Regions from separate parts of the Homo sapiens genome. Here region 2 is linked to region 1. Evidence: promoter capture Hi-C in human tissues and cell types (Jung and others, 2019). All regions are on one chromosome and are shown on one strand. Each heading gives the region's core, a stretch centred on a gene start or on the middle of the fragment in contact. The rest is flanking DNA. Distances are from core to core; before and after follow the strand shown. Region 1 holds the start of MIA (MIA SH3 domain containing). Region 2 holds the start of EXOSC5 (exosome component 5).

Region 1 (6,852 bases), core at 127-2,626:
TCCCTTCTCCCTGATCTCCACATAACTGCTCCATCCTTGTCATATGAATCTCAGCTTAAATGCCACCTGTTCAGAGGCCCTTTCTGAACACCCAAGTAAGTCTCTGTTAATTCTCACAGCAGCGCATATTTGCTTTTATTATTATTATTATTTTGGAAACAGGGTCTCATTGTGTCGCCCAGGTTGAGGTGCAGTAGCATGATCACGGCTCACTGCAGCCTCAACTTCTGGGATCAAGCAATCCTCCCACCTCAGCCTCCCGAGTAGCCGGGACCACAGACACATGCCATGAAGCCCAGTTAATTTTAAATTTTTTTTTATAGAGATGGGGGTCTTGCTATGTTGCCCAGGCTGGTCTCGAACTCCTGGGCTCAAGCTATCCTCCCAACTTGGCCTTACTTGGGATTACAGGTGTGAGCTACTGTGCCCGGCTGCTGCTATTTTTTATGCCTTGCTTTTTGTTCATTTCCCTCCATTAGAATAAAAAGGATCATTTGTTGTTGTATCTTGGTGTCTAGAACAGAACGTGGGACCATATCAGGTCCTAAAATTGGTAAATAAAGTGAAAATAGGCTGGGGGGCAGTGGCTCACACCTGTAATCCCAGCACTCCGGGAGGCCAAGGCGGGCAGATCATGAGGTCAGGAGTTCAAGACCAGCCTGGCCAATATGGTAAAACCCTGTCTCTACTAAAAATACAAAAATTAGCCAGGTGTGGTGGTGCATGCCTGTAATCCCAGGTACTTGGGAGGCTGAGGCAGGAGAATCGCTTAAACCCAAGAGGTGGAGGTTACAGTGAGCCGAGATCGTGCCATTGCACTCCAGCCTGGGTGACAGAGCAAGACTCTGTCTCGGAAAAAATTAAAAAATAATAAGCAAATAAAATAAAGTAAGTAACAATATCCCCCCACAATGTCTATTTCAGTTCACCCCCCTCAAATCTTCCCTTCATGGGGATAATGAGTCTACCCCAGCTCTGTACCCTTCCCTCTTTCACTCTCCCAAGACTCACGCTGCCTCCCCAGAAGAGCCGCCCACGGCCCTTCAGCTTGGAGAAGACATACACCACTTGGCCCCGGTGAATGGTCAGGAATCGGCAGTCGGGGGCCATGTAGTCCTGAAGGGCCACAGCCATGGAGATAGGGTCTAGGGAAGGAATAGAAGGGAATGCAGCACCCTCCACACAGGCTAACGCCCAAGCCCCCAATTCTCCCCTCCCCATTCTTACGGCTGCACTCCTGGTCCGCACACAGCTTCCGGTCAGCCAGCTTGGGCATAGGACCACCCCTGACACCAGGTCCGGAGAAGGCAGACAGCAAGATGATGACACCAAGGCACACCAGGGACCGGGCCATCGTGGACTGTGAGCAAGAGAGTGAGCAAGGGGGTGCTGGGGTCTCCAATTTCCTCCCCTCCCTCTCTCCCGTAGTACAAGGAAACTTGTGTTCTTGGTCTTGTCCCCGCCCTAAACCAGTCCCAAACTTCGCCCACACCACCTAGAAGTTGCTATGAAACCAGAACCATTTCAAGGATAGGGTAAAGGCTGTAAGCCCAAGGAAATTCCCAGATAAGGTCCAAAGCAGCTCACAACTTTCCCAGTGACAGCCCCCTCCTCAACAATCACAGAGGCCTAGATAAGGTGGTTGAAATATTCAATTCCATCTTCTCTTGAGTTGGCTTAGGTACCTGGGCTCCTCCGCTGTCCCCTCTGGCCACAGAAGCGGAGGAGCCTGTAAAGAAAACCACCTTGGAATTTCCTGTGCTGTGGGGCAGGAGAACAAGGCAGCCCTTTGATTACCAGAAACAGCCCAGCCCTTGAGTACTGACTGAATATTGTATGCTGAACCTTAGGCTAGGCAAAGTCCCACCATGATCACTATTCCTCTGCACCAGACGCTTCCCACTGGATGACCTGGGCTAAGCTATTTCTCCTCACAAAGCCTCAGCTTCCTTATATGTAAAATGGGAACAATAAAAAAGCCAATAGTTACAGAGCATTCACCAAGTACATATTTATGTTATGAACTCAAATGGATACTCTGTATCATGTCAGGAGGAGTGATTATAACCCCTCCCTTTTTTTTCTTTTTTGAGACAGGGTCTCACCCTGTTGCCCAGGTGGAGTGCAATGGTGCCATCCCGGCTCACTGCAGCCTCAACCTCCTAGACTCAGGCAATCCTCCCACCTCAGCCTCCTGAGTAACTGGGACTACAGGCACAAGCCACCTATGCCCAATTAATCCATTTTTTTAAATAATTATTTTGAGGTAGAGTCTTGCTCTGTTGCCCAGGTTGGAGTGCACTGGCATGATCCTGGTTCACTGTAGCCCCTATTTCCTGGGCTCAAGCATTCCTCCCACCTCAGCCTACCGAGTAGCTGGGACCACAGACATGTACCATTATGCCCAGTTAATTTTTTGTATTTTTTGGTAGAGCCGGGGTTTCGTCATGTTGCCCAGCCTCGTCTCAAACTCCTGGGCTCAAGCAATCTGCCCACCATGGCCTTCCAAAGTGCTGGGATTACAGGCATGAGCCACCAAGCCCAGCCTAATTTAATTTTTTGAGACAGGATCTTGCTGTTGCTCAGGCTGAAGTACAGTGATGTGATCATAGCTCACTGCATCCTCAAACTCCTGGGCTCAAGAAATCCTCCCCTCTCAGCCTCTCGAGTAGAATAGTAGGCAAGTCACCATTCTTGGATGATTTCTTTTATTTTTATTTTTCTAGAGCCAATGTCTTACTGTGCTGCCTGGGCTGGTCTTGAACTCTTGTCCCCAAGTATCCTCCCGCCTTGGCCTCCCAAAGCACTGGGATTACAGGCATGAGCCACCAATGCCTGGCCTATAACCCCTTGTTACATGGAAATGGAAGTGTGGAGTTAAGGAACTTGTCTAAGGCTTACAGAGCCAGGAAGTGGAGAAGTGGAGAGGCTAAGACTTGTATCCAGGCCCACAGCCATTGCTATGCTATCTTTTTTTTTTTTTCTTTTTTTTCTTTGAGATGGAGTCTCATATTGCAGTGGTACAATCTCAGCTCACTGCAACCTCCACCTCCCGAGTTCAAGCAATTCTCCTGCCTCAGCCTCCCGAGTAGCTGGGATTACAGGCATGTGCCACCATGCCCGGCTATTTTTGTATTTTTAGTAGAGACAGGGTTTGTCCATGTTGGCCAGGCTGGTCTCGAACTCCCCACCTCAGGTGATCCACCCGCCTCGGCGTTCCAAAGTGCTGGGATTATAGGAGTGAGTCACCGCGTCTGGCCTGAAAGATTTTTTTTTTTTTACAGGCAGGGTCTCACTCTGTCACCCAGACTAGAGTGCAGTGCCACAATCACAGCTCACTCAGCCTTGAACAACTGGGCTCAAGCTATTCTCCCACCGCAGCCTCCTAAGTAGCTGTGACTATAAGTGTGAGCCACTGCACCTGGCTTTGAAATGCAATTTCTTTTTTTTTTTTTTTTTTTTTGAGACATTGTTTCGCTCTTGTCACCCAAGCTGGAGTGCAATGGCACGATCTTAGCTCACTGTGACCTCCCCCTCCCGGGTTCAAGTGATTCTCCTGCCTCAGCCTCCCAAGTAGCGGGGATTACAGGCATCTGCCACCATGCCCAGCTAATTTTGTATTTTTAGTAGAGATGGGGTTTCACCATGTTGGTCAGGCTGGTGTCAAACTCCTGACCTCAAGTGACCCACCCACCTTGGCCTCCAAAAGTGTGGGGATTACAGGTGTGAGCCACCGCACCCGGCCCCACTTTAAAACACTCTTTAAAAAATTATTTCTTCATTCAGGCCAGACATGGTGGCTCACTCTTGTAATCCCAGCACTTTGGGAGGCTGAGGCAGGCGGATCACTTGAGGTCAGGAGTTTTGAGACCAGCCTGGCCAACGTGGTGAAAATACAAAAATTAGACAGGCATGGTGGCACACACCTGTAGTCCCAGCTACTTGGGAGGCCGAACCAGAATCACTTGAAACTGGGAGGTGGAGGCTGCAGTGAGCCAAGATCACGCCACTGCACTCCAGCCTGAACGAGAGAGTGAGACCCTGTCTCAAAAAAAAAAAAAAAAAAATCCGCCGGATGCAGTGGCTCACACCTGTAATCCCAGCACTTTGGGAGGCTGAGGTGGGTGGATCACCTGAGGTCAGGAGTTCAAGACCAGCCTGGCCAATATGGTGAAACCCTGTCACTACTGAAAAATACAAAAATGAGCCAGGCATGGTGGCGCATGCCTGTAGTCCCAGCTACTCAGGAGGCTGAGGCAGAAGAATTGCTTGAACCTGGGAGGTGGAGGTTGCAATGAGCCAAGATCATGCCACTGCACTCCAGCCTGGGTGACAGAGTGAGACTCTGTCTCAAAAAAAAAAAAAATCATTTCTTCATTCATTGAAGATTTCATGAGTACATAAAGTATCCTAGGACTTAATCCAGACCCTGGAGATTCATCAAGGAATGAAAATTAAAGGGGAGATAATCAATGAACAAAGTTCAGATATATGATAGTGTGTGAAGTATTAAGGATACTCAGAAAGAACACTCAAGAATCAGCTGTGGGAACCGTGCCCCCTGCCCCATATTACTGATGAAGCCACAAAGAAATAGAAGTGACTTCAATTCCCAAAGCACAGTGCATGTATCTCCTGCTGCATAATTAGCCTAAGACCAACATTGCCCCAGTGCAGTGGCTCATGCCTGTAATCCCAACACTTTGGGAGGCTGAGACAGGAGGATTGCTAGAGCCTAAGAATTTGAGACCAGCCTAAGTAACACAGGGAGACCCTTGTACCTACAAAAAGAAGAAAAAAAGAGAAAAACTAGCTGTGCATGGTGGTACAAACCTGTAGTCCCAGCCACTCAGGAGGTTGAGGTGGGAGGACCACTTGAACCCAGGATGTAGAGGCCGCAGTGAGCCATGATCGTGCCACTGCACTCTAGAGCAAGAACCTGTTTAGAAAAAAAAAGACCAAAATTATCACCTTTTCTGTGGGTCGAATGTCTCAGGCTTAAGGTCTGCTATAAGGCTGCAATCAGCCTGTCAGCCAGGGGTGCAGTTTCATCTGAAGGCTGAATGGTGGGAGGACTGCTTCCAAACTCATTCAGGCAGCTGTTGGGGAGATGCAGTTGCTTGTGGGAACTGGACTGAGGGCCTCTGTCCTCAGTTTTCTTGACACGTGGACCTCTACAGACAGCTTGAGAGGTGAAGATGGCTGGGCCTCTGGGCCGGTGAGGACTTGGAGAACTTTTCTGTCTACCTAAAGGATTGTAAATGCACCAATCAGCACTCTGTGTCTAGCTAAAGGTTTGTAAACACACCAATCAGTGCTCTGTGTCTAGCTAATCAGGTAGGGGACTTGGAGAACTTTTCTGTCTAGCTAAAGGATTGTAAATGCACCAATCAGCGCTCTGTGTCTAGCTAAAGGATTGTAAGCACGCCAATCAGCGCTCTGTGTCTAGGTAAAGATTTGTAAACGCACCAATCAGCTCTCTGTAAAAACGGACCAATCAGACTCTGTAAAACAGACCAATCAGCACTCTGTAAAATGGACCAATCAGCTATCTGTAAAATGGATCAATCAGCAGGATGTGGGTGGGACCAAATAAGGAAATAAAAGCAGGCCACCCTAGCCAGCAGCTGCAACTGGCTCAGGGCGCCTTCCATGCTGTGGAAGCCTTGTTCTTTTGCTCTTTGCAATAAATTTTGCTGTTGCACATTCTATAGGTCCACATTATCTTTATGAGCTGTAACACTCACCGCGAAGGTCTGTGGCTTCACTCCTGAACTCAGCATAGACTACAAACCCACCAGAAGGAAGAAATTCCAGATACATCTGAACATCTGAAGGAACAAACTCCAGGCACACCATCTTTAAGAACTGTGACACTCACTGCGAGGGTGCATGGCTTCATTCTTGAAGTCAGCGACGCCAAGAACCCACCAGAAGGAACCAATTCCAGACACAAGCTCACAACGTGGCAGCTGGATTTCCCAACAGCAAGACAGAGGCCAGTCTTTGTACCCACCCTTTGTACTCTTCCTCCATATTGCAGCCACAGGAGCAGGGCCACTGAGAAGCACAATTTTTTTTTTTAATTTTTTAAAATTTTGAGACAGAATCTCACTCTGTCGCCCAGGCTGGAGTGCAGTGGCATGATCTCGGCTTACTGCAACCTCCGCCTCCCGGGTTCAAGCAATTCTGCTTCAGCCTCCAAGTAGCTGAGACTACAGGCACGTGCCACCATGCCTGGCTAATTTTTGTATATTTAGTAGCGACGGGTTTCACCATATTCACCACGCTGGTGTCGATCTCCTGACCTCAAGTGATCTGCCCACCTCAGCCTCCCAAAGTGCTGGGATTACAGAGGTGAGCCACCGTGCCCGGCCTCTTTTTTTTCATCTCTCACCTCCAAAGTGTGCTTCGGAGATCCACAGGCTAAGCGTCCTTCTCCAGAGGGTCCACGTTGCTCCCAGGGACCCTCACCTCTAGACTGGCAAGTCCAAGCTTTTTTTAGAAGAGGATGGACACACACAGGCTTGGGGCCAGGGAAGAGTTTGTCAGGGATGAAGACTAGGTCTGTGCCATGTCTACAAACCCAACACCAAGCACCATGAGCTCAGCTCAAATGCACCTTCTCAGAAGGGTTTTCTGGACCACTCATTACTGTTCCCAACCCCATCACCCGCTTCACATCAGGATTTTTTTTTTTTTTTTGGAGTCTTGCTCTGTCACCCAGGCTGGAGTGTGCAGTGCCACTGCACCTCCATCTCACTGCAACCTCCACCTCCAGGTTCAAGTGATTCTCCTGCCTCAGCCTCCCAAGTAGCTAGGATTACAAGCATGCACCACCACGTCTAACTA
Region 2 (6,852 bases), core at 3,672-6,171, 620 kb before region 1:
ACATGGTTTGTCTCTGTCCCCACTCAAATCTCATCTTGAATTATAGCTCCCATAATTCCCACATGTTGTGGGAAGGAGCCAGTGGGAGGTAATTGAATTATGGGGGTGGATCTTTCACGTGCTGTTCTCATTATACTGAATAAGTCTCACGAGATCTGATGGTTTTATAAAGGGGAGTTCCCCTGCAAGCACTCTGTCTGCCTGCCACCATGTAAGATGTGACTTTGCTCCTCATTTGCCTTCCGCCATGTTTGTGAGGCTTCCCCAGCCATGTGGAACTGTGAGTCCATTAAGCCTCTTTTTCTTTATAAATTACCCAGTCTTGGGTGTGTTTTTATTAGCAGCCTGAAAACGGACTAATACATACACTGAGTACCTACCACTTGGAGATACTGCACAGGGCACTGGAACCCCCAGACAGGCTGCCCCTGAAGAGCTGGGTCACAGAAATAGTCACCGATAATTAGCACAGAGCGAGCTCCAGGGGCTTCCTGACTTCCAACAGGGTAGGGACTCTATTCACCCCACTAGCTAGGGTCAGAGAGGTGAAATGACTTAGCCAAGCCCAGGCCTGGGGTAGTGGCTGAGAAACTGACTCACAATTCCTTGACAATCTGAGTTTCCTTCCTCCTCCTTTCCCTGAGCACTAAAACGTCTGCTATGATAACAGAGACAGGAAGGGAGGTGAAAATCAGGCAAACACATCTGCAGGGCAGCAGGGTATTCAATGAAGGAGTGGGCAGAGCAGGGGCAAGAAGTCGGGGACAAGTAAAGCAGCCCCACTCCTCCTTCTAATCCAATCTTCCCCAGTGAACCCAGTAATCCAATCTGTCTACAATATGCAGCCTCTCAACCTTTCCCTGACTATTTCTTCATCTCCACCTGGATAAAACTGCATCATCTTAGCCAGGCATGGTGGCTCACACCTGTAATCCCAGCACTCTGGGAGGCCGAGGTGGGTGGGTCGCCTGAGGTCGGGAGTTCAAGACCAGCCTGATCAACATGGAGAAACCCTGTCTCTACTAAAAATACAAAATTAGCCAGGCATGGTGGTGCATGCCTGTAATCCCAGCTACTCGGGAGGCTGAGGCAGGAGAATCGCTTGAACCCAGGAAGAGGAGGTTGTGGTGAGCCAAGATCATGCCATTGCACTCCAGCCTAGGCAATGAGAGCAAAACTCCACCTCGAAAAAACAAAAAACAAAACAAAACAAAAACCCTGCACCATCTAATGTGGCAGCCACCAACCACTTGTGGCTATCTTATTTTGAGACAGAGGGCTGCTCTGTCACCTAGGCTGGGGTATAGTGGTGCGATCTCGGCTCACTGCAATCTCCGCCTCCCAGGTTCAAGCGATTCTTCTGCCTCAGCCTCCCAAGTAGCTGGGACTACAGGCACACGCCATTACGCCCAGCTAATTTTTTTGTATTTTTAGTAGAGATGGGGTTTCACCATGTTGGCCAGGCTGGTCTTGAACTCCTGGCCTCAGGCAACCCGCCCACCTTGGCCTCTCAAAATGCTGGGATTACAGGCATGAGCCACCGCACCCAGCCCACTTGTGGCTACTTAAACTTAAACTCATGATAATTTAATAATATGGCCAGGCAAGGTGGCTCACGCTTGTCATCCTGCACTTTGGGAGGCTGAGGCAGGAAGATCGCTTGAGTCCAGGAGTTCAAGACCAGCCTGGAAAACATGGCAAAACCCCATCTCTACAAAGATTTAAAAATTAGCCAGGCGCAGCCAGGCACAGTGGCTTATGCCTGTAATCCCAGCACTTTGGGAGGCCGAGGCGGGCAGATCACCTTAGATCAGGAGTTCAAGACCAGCCTGGTCAACATGGTGAAACCCCATCTCTACTAAAAATACAAAAATTAACTGGGTATGGTGGCGCACGCCAGTAGTCCCAGCTATTTGGGAGGCTGAGGCAGGAGAATCACTTGAACCTGGGAAGTGGAGGTTGCAGTGAGCCGAGATCGTGCCACTGCACTCCAGCTTGGGTGACAGAGCAAGACTCCGTCTCAAAAAAAAAAAAAAAAATTAAAAATTAGCCAGGCGTAGTAGCACGTGCCTGTGGTCCCAGCTACTTAGGAGGTGGAGGTGGGGGGATTGCTTGAGCCCAGGAGGTTGAGGCTGCAGTGAGCCATGATCACACCACTGCACTCACTCCAGCCTGGGTGACAGAGTGAGACCTTGTCTCAAAAAAAGAAAAGGCTAGGCGCAGTGGCTCATGCTTTTGGAGGCCAAGACAGGCGGAACTTGAGGCCAGAAGTTCGAGACCAGCCTGGACAACATGGTGAAACCTCGTCCCTACCAAAAATACAAAAATTAGCCAGGCGTGATAGTGCATGCCTGTAATCCCAGCTACTAGGGAGGCTGAGGCAGGAGAATTGCTTGAACTCGGCAGGCAGAGATTGCAGTAAGTCAAGATCATGCTGCTGCACTCCAGCCTAGGCGAGAGAGTGAAACTCTGTCTCAAAAAAGAAAAAAAAAGAAAAAGGAAAGAGAGGTACAGAAAGAAAGAGAGAGAGAAAAGAGAAGAGAAAAGGAAAGGAAAGGAAAGGGAAAAAGAAAAGAAAAGAAAAAGGAGAGGGGAGGAGAGGAGAGGAGAAGGAGAGGAAAGAAAGAAGAAGAGAGAAAGAACAGGTGGGAGAAATAAAGGGGAAAAAACAATAACTCTTAAGATAATACAAATTTAAATATATATAAATAAAAAGTAGGGACTTCTTCCCTCCCCACTCCCCACCAAAAATGAAGTAGGGGAAGCAAGAGGAAAGGTAATCAAGAGATTGAGACAGGAGAGAAAGATTTAATCAGCCATAAATGACCTTTCCCTAGCCTGCCCCAGTCCTGCCCACCTCCTGCCCCACTTGCCCAGCCAATGGGCCCCTGGGACTGAGATCAGCTGTGGAGGATATGAACTGCTCAAAAAAAAAAAAAAAAAAAAAAGTGAAAAGGTCTCCAGCCCAAAGGCAAGAGACTGCCCTACCCACACCTTGCTCCTGCAGCCCTTCTGTATTTACCTGTTTCAAGTGACTCCGTTCCTAGATACCTACTACGTCCTACTCCTGGCCCATCTTCTTCACCCTCCTCCCGTTTGTTCCCCTACCCAGAGCTTCTTTCTACAGATTCCATCTTCCCCTCCTTATGGATTGGGGATCAGAGGATCAGACTCAACCTCACAATATCTTTTCAGATTTTTTTCCCCAGGGCCTCACCAATCCAGGCCTTCCCAAGGTCACCCCTTTCTTCTCCCCATCTCCAAGGTTAGTTTCTGTCCCTTCCCTCCACCCTCACTATCAACATTCCTATTGCCCTTAGGATGTGCCAGGTCCAGTCCTTAGCATTTTACATATTGATTTTTCACAGCCCTATGAGGTGGCCACTGTTAATATTTTAGAGAGGAAAATTAGCTCCATAGATCCAGAGAAGTGCAGTCCGTTGGCCAAGGCTACACAAGTGGAAAGCGGCAGAGCAAGGACATGCATCCACCCATGTAACCACTACTCTCCTATCTGTCAACTGTAGTTCAAAGCTCTTCTGCAACCCATTGCCTCTCCCCGTCTAAAGATAGGCTTCCACCTAGGTTTTTTGCAGTGTAATCTTGCCCTTAGCAGCATCCACCTGAAGGGATTGTGACCCTTTTGACAAGAAACAAAGCCTTCTCAAGTGTTTCTAAGAAATGTGGGCAAAGTGCCCTGTCTGTACCTCTCTCCCTCCTTTTTTCCCCTCATTAATTCAACAAATATTAATCGTCTCCTCTGTACAGTGTCCAGAACACACGAATTCTCTGTCTTGATATTCGATCAAGAGACACAGGAATCAAACAAATTTTTTACACAATTCATTTTAAAATCAGAATTGTGGCAAAGGAGCAAAGAAATACAAGGCCCTATGCAGCCTGTGACAGGGACCTGTTCTCTTCTTTCTTCTTCTTGAAGAGGGATCTTTGCCCAGAAGAAAGTCCCTCCCTTACAAAGTCAGTTTCATTCTCCAAACCCTGAGGGAGAAGGTCTTGCGGTCTTCCCCTGTTCCTCCAAGGAGCCTCCCCTGAATACCAGTGGCAGCTAATAAGGAACCCCCATCTCTCTCTTCAAGTCGTCTCCCTCAGGGCCCACAAAGAAGTTGCAAACGGGTTTTTTCCTCTCCTAAAGAAGTGGAAGTTCTTTTCGTCTCCTAAGGAAGTGGCAGATCTTCCCTTCGGTGTCTTCTCCAAGGAGTCTCCCACTCTTTTTCCCTTTTGTGACAGCCCTTCCTTCATATCCTTCAGGGACCCCACACTCTGAAGATAGCCTTTACATCCCTAATCCCCTTTGGGAAAACCGCCTGGGGCCCAGGTACTCACAGATCTAGCCAGTCCCCGAGCCCCAGGCTGCCGCAGCAGCAGGAGGGCAGCCTGGCTCAAACCACGGTTTAGCCGCCAGACCCTCGCTGCAGCGATCGCTACCGCCATCTTGGCTAACAACCACTCAGCGGTCCGGCACTCACGTAGGCTAGATTCGGGGCTGCCTCTTTATGTGCCTGACGCAAACTCCAGCACCATCTGACAAGAAAACCATCTTCTTCCCGTTCTGTGGTAGATAGAATGCACAGAGATTTGGAGAAAAAAAAATCTATCTACCCAAAATTTTCTCCAATCGCCTCATTGTAGTTACTCCTGTAACAGGCAAAGAAGAGGGCAACCTGACCAGGGCCTCAGGGATTTAGGGCCCGGGGGCCCAGAGTAAAGCGGATCAATGCCAAGGCCTGCCTTCTGTTCCCAAATGTCCAATGGCGTTGCCAGAGTTAGGAGGTGGGACTGGGCGGAGCCAGATTGTTGGTAAACGCTAAGCCACGTGCGGACGCCCAGGAGGATGGCCCAGCCCGGCGCGTGCGCACTGGTTACGCAGCCTGTTTGCGGCGCGCGCTGCCAGGCGGAAGTGACAACTGCAGCCGCACGTGGGCTCGGCGCGATGGAGGAGGAGACGCATACTGACGCCAAAATCCGTGCTGAAAATGGAACAGGGTCCAGCCCTCGGGGTCCTGGCTGCAGCCTCCGGCACTTTGCCTGCGAACAGAACCTGCTGTCGCGGCCAGATGGCTCTGCTTCCTTCCTGCAAGGTAAGAACTTCACCCAGGTCTTTCTTTTGGAGAGGGACTACCGTGTACTGTGCAACCGAGTGCCCACCTCCTCACGATACCAGCTGGTAAATGTCACTCCTGCGTTGATGCATGATTTCTTGTCCGATTGAATACTACTAAATACGCAGGGATACACACATCTCTCCCTCACGACTAGAAAGGAGAAGATAGTTCCATCTTTGTAACTATCTCTGAGAATGAGAGGAGGGGCAGACTGTCCGCCCAAGAATTGATATTTCAGAATAGGGAAAATCACCTCGCCAGGGTAAATATCCCCCTTAACTCGATTCCTCCTCCACCCTCCCACCCCCACCCCCCACACACACACCCTCTAGGTCCTTGCATCCCGGACTGAAGCAAACCTGTCTATTTGCATACTGTGGACTGTGGCGGATCTTTCACCCACGTAAATACTCCTCAAATTGAAGATAATGTCATTGCGCTGGGTTGAGAAATACATCCCCACCGCTACCTCACTGCATCTCTCCACACAAGTAAATATCCCTAAGATTAGGGCAAGTCAAAAAAAAAAAAAAAAAAAAGATTAGGGCAAGTCTTACCTATAGAGCAAATATCCCCTTTTCCTAGCTAAATAACTCTCAGAAGTAGATTAACTCCAAGAATATTTCTCTTTAACGTTTGAGACGGGAGGCCGGGGGCGGTGGCTCACGCCTGTAATCCCCACACTTTGGGAGGCCAAGACCTGTGGCTCACCTGAGGTCAGGAGTTCGAGACCAGCCTGGCCAACATGGCGAAACCCTGTCTCTACTAAAAATACAAAAACTAGCCAGGCATGGTGGCGGGCGCCTGTAATCCCAGCTACTCGGGAGGCTGAGGCAGGACAATCACTTGAACCTGGGAGGCAGAAGTTGCAGTGGGCCGAGATCGTGCCATTGTACTCCAGCGTGAGCGACAAAGCAAGACTCTGTCTCAAAAAAAAAAAAAATTGAGACAGCGTCTCACGATGTCACCCAGGTTGGTCTTGAACTCCTGGGCTCAAGCAATCCTCCTCCCAAAGTGCTCATACAGGTATGAGCCACCACGCCCAGCCCCAATACATTTTAACAAAATTTGGCTGCTGTGTTGATTGTGGGGAGTATGGGGGAAAACAGGGAGGTGATGGTGGCTCCAGCCAGAGCAGGAGTAGTGGAGGTGATGAGATTCTGGATGTAGTTTGAAAGTAATACGGACAAAACTTACGTATAGTTTGGTTTGAGTGCGAGGAAAAAGATTCAGGCATAACTAAGGTTTCTGCCCAGATCTGTACAAGTCTGGAAATCAGAAGAGAGACCCAAGCTGGACATAGGCAATTTGGAACTCTCTGGCTATATAGATGGTATTTCAGGCTATTGCCTGAACGAAGTGAGTGTAGATGGAAAAGAGAAGAGGTCCCAGGACCAAGCCCTAGGCCTTCCAACTTGAGCAGTCAGAGACATGTGACAAGCTAGCAAAGGAGACTCAGAAGGAACGCCCAGAGAGTTAGGGGGAAACCAGGAGATGGTGGTGACCTGGGGCCAAGAAAAGAGCATGTCTGAGATGTGAGGGCTGACCAGCTGTTTCAGCCTTACTGACAGCCGGGTCATGGGAGGGTTGATCATTTGGAGGTCAGTGGTGACGATGTTGAGCTGCCGCAATGGAGTGGTGGGGTCACAGAAAAGGAAGAAGAGGCAGCTGTTCAGGAGTTCTGCTGTAAGAGGATCAGATAAGTGGGGCAGGAGTTGTAGATTGTTGT

The links. The method cuts DNA at HindIII sites, captures the fragments that hold promoters and counts their contacts. A contact is called where the count stands out against the background at its distance.
Region 2: a contact is called between the fragment with the promoter of EXOSC5 here and the fragment with the promoter of MIA in region 1, in 1 of the 25 tissues and cell types used here (spleen).

What each region holds. Positions count from the first base shown.
Region 1 is chr19:40,770,045-40,776,896 of GRCh38, reverse strand. It overlaps MIA (MIA SH3 domain containing), which reads right to left and starts at 1,376. Exons shown (of 4, transcript NM_006533.4): 1 at 1,228-1,376; 2 at 1,012-1,145. The coding sequence starts at 1,354. MIA-RAB4B (MIA-RAB4B readthrough (NMD candidate)) reads right to left here and starts at 1,360. Exons shown (of 10, transcript NR_037775.1): 1 at 1,228-1,360; 2 at 1,012-1,145. The HindIII fragment of the contact is 14,863 bases long and covers 1-6,852 here.
Region 2 is chr19:41,395,428-41,402,279 of GRCh38, reverse strand. EXOSC5 (exosome component 5) reads left to right here and starts at 4,921. Exons shown (of 6, transcript NM_020158.4): 1 at 4,921-5,099. The coding sequence starts at 4,952. It overlaps BCKDHA (branched chain keto acid dehydrogenase E1 subunit alpha), which reads right to left and starts at 4,462. Exons shown (of 9, transcript NM_000709.4): 1 at 4,345-4,462. The coding sequence starts at 4,452. RefSeq lists enhancers at 3,607-4,278, 4,434-4,713, 4,279-4,951 and a silencer at 4,710-4,998. The HindIII fragment of the contact is 15,471 bases long and covers 1-6,852 here.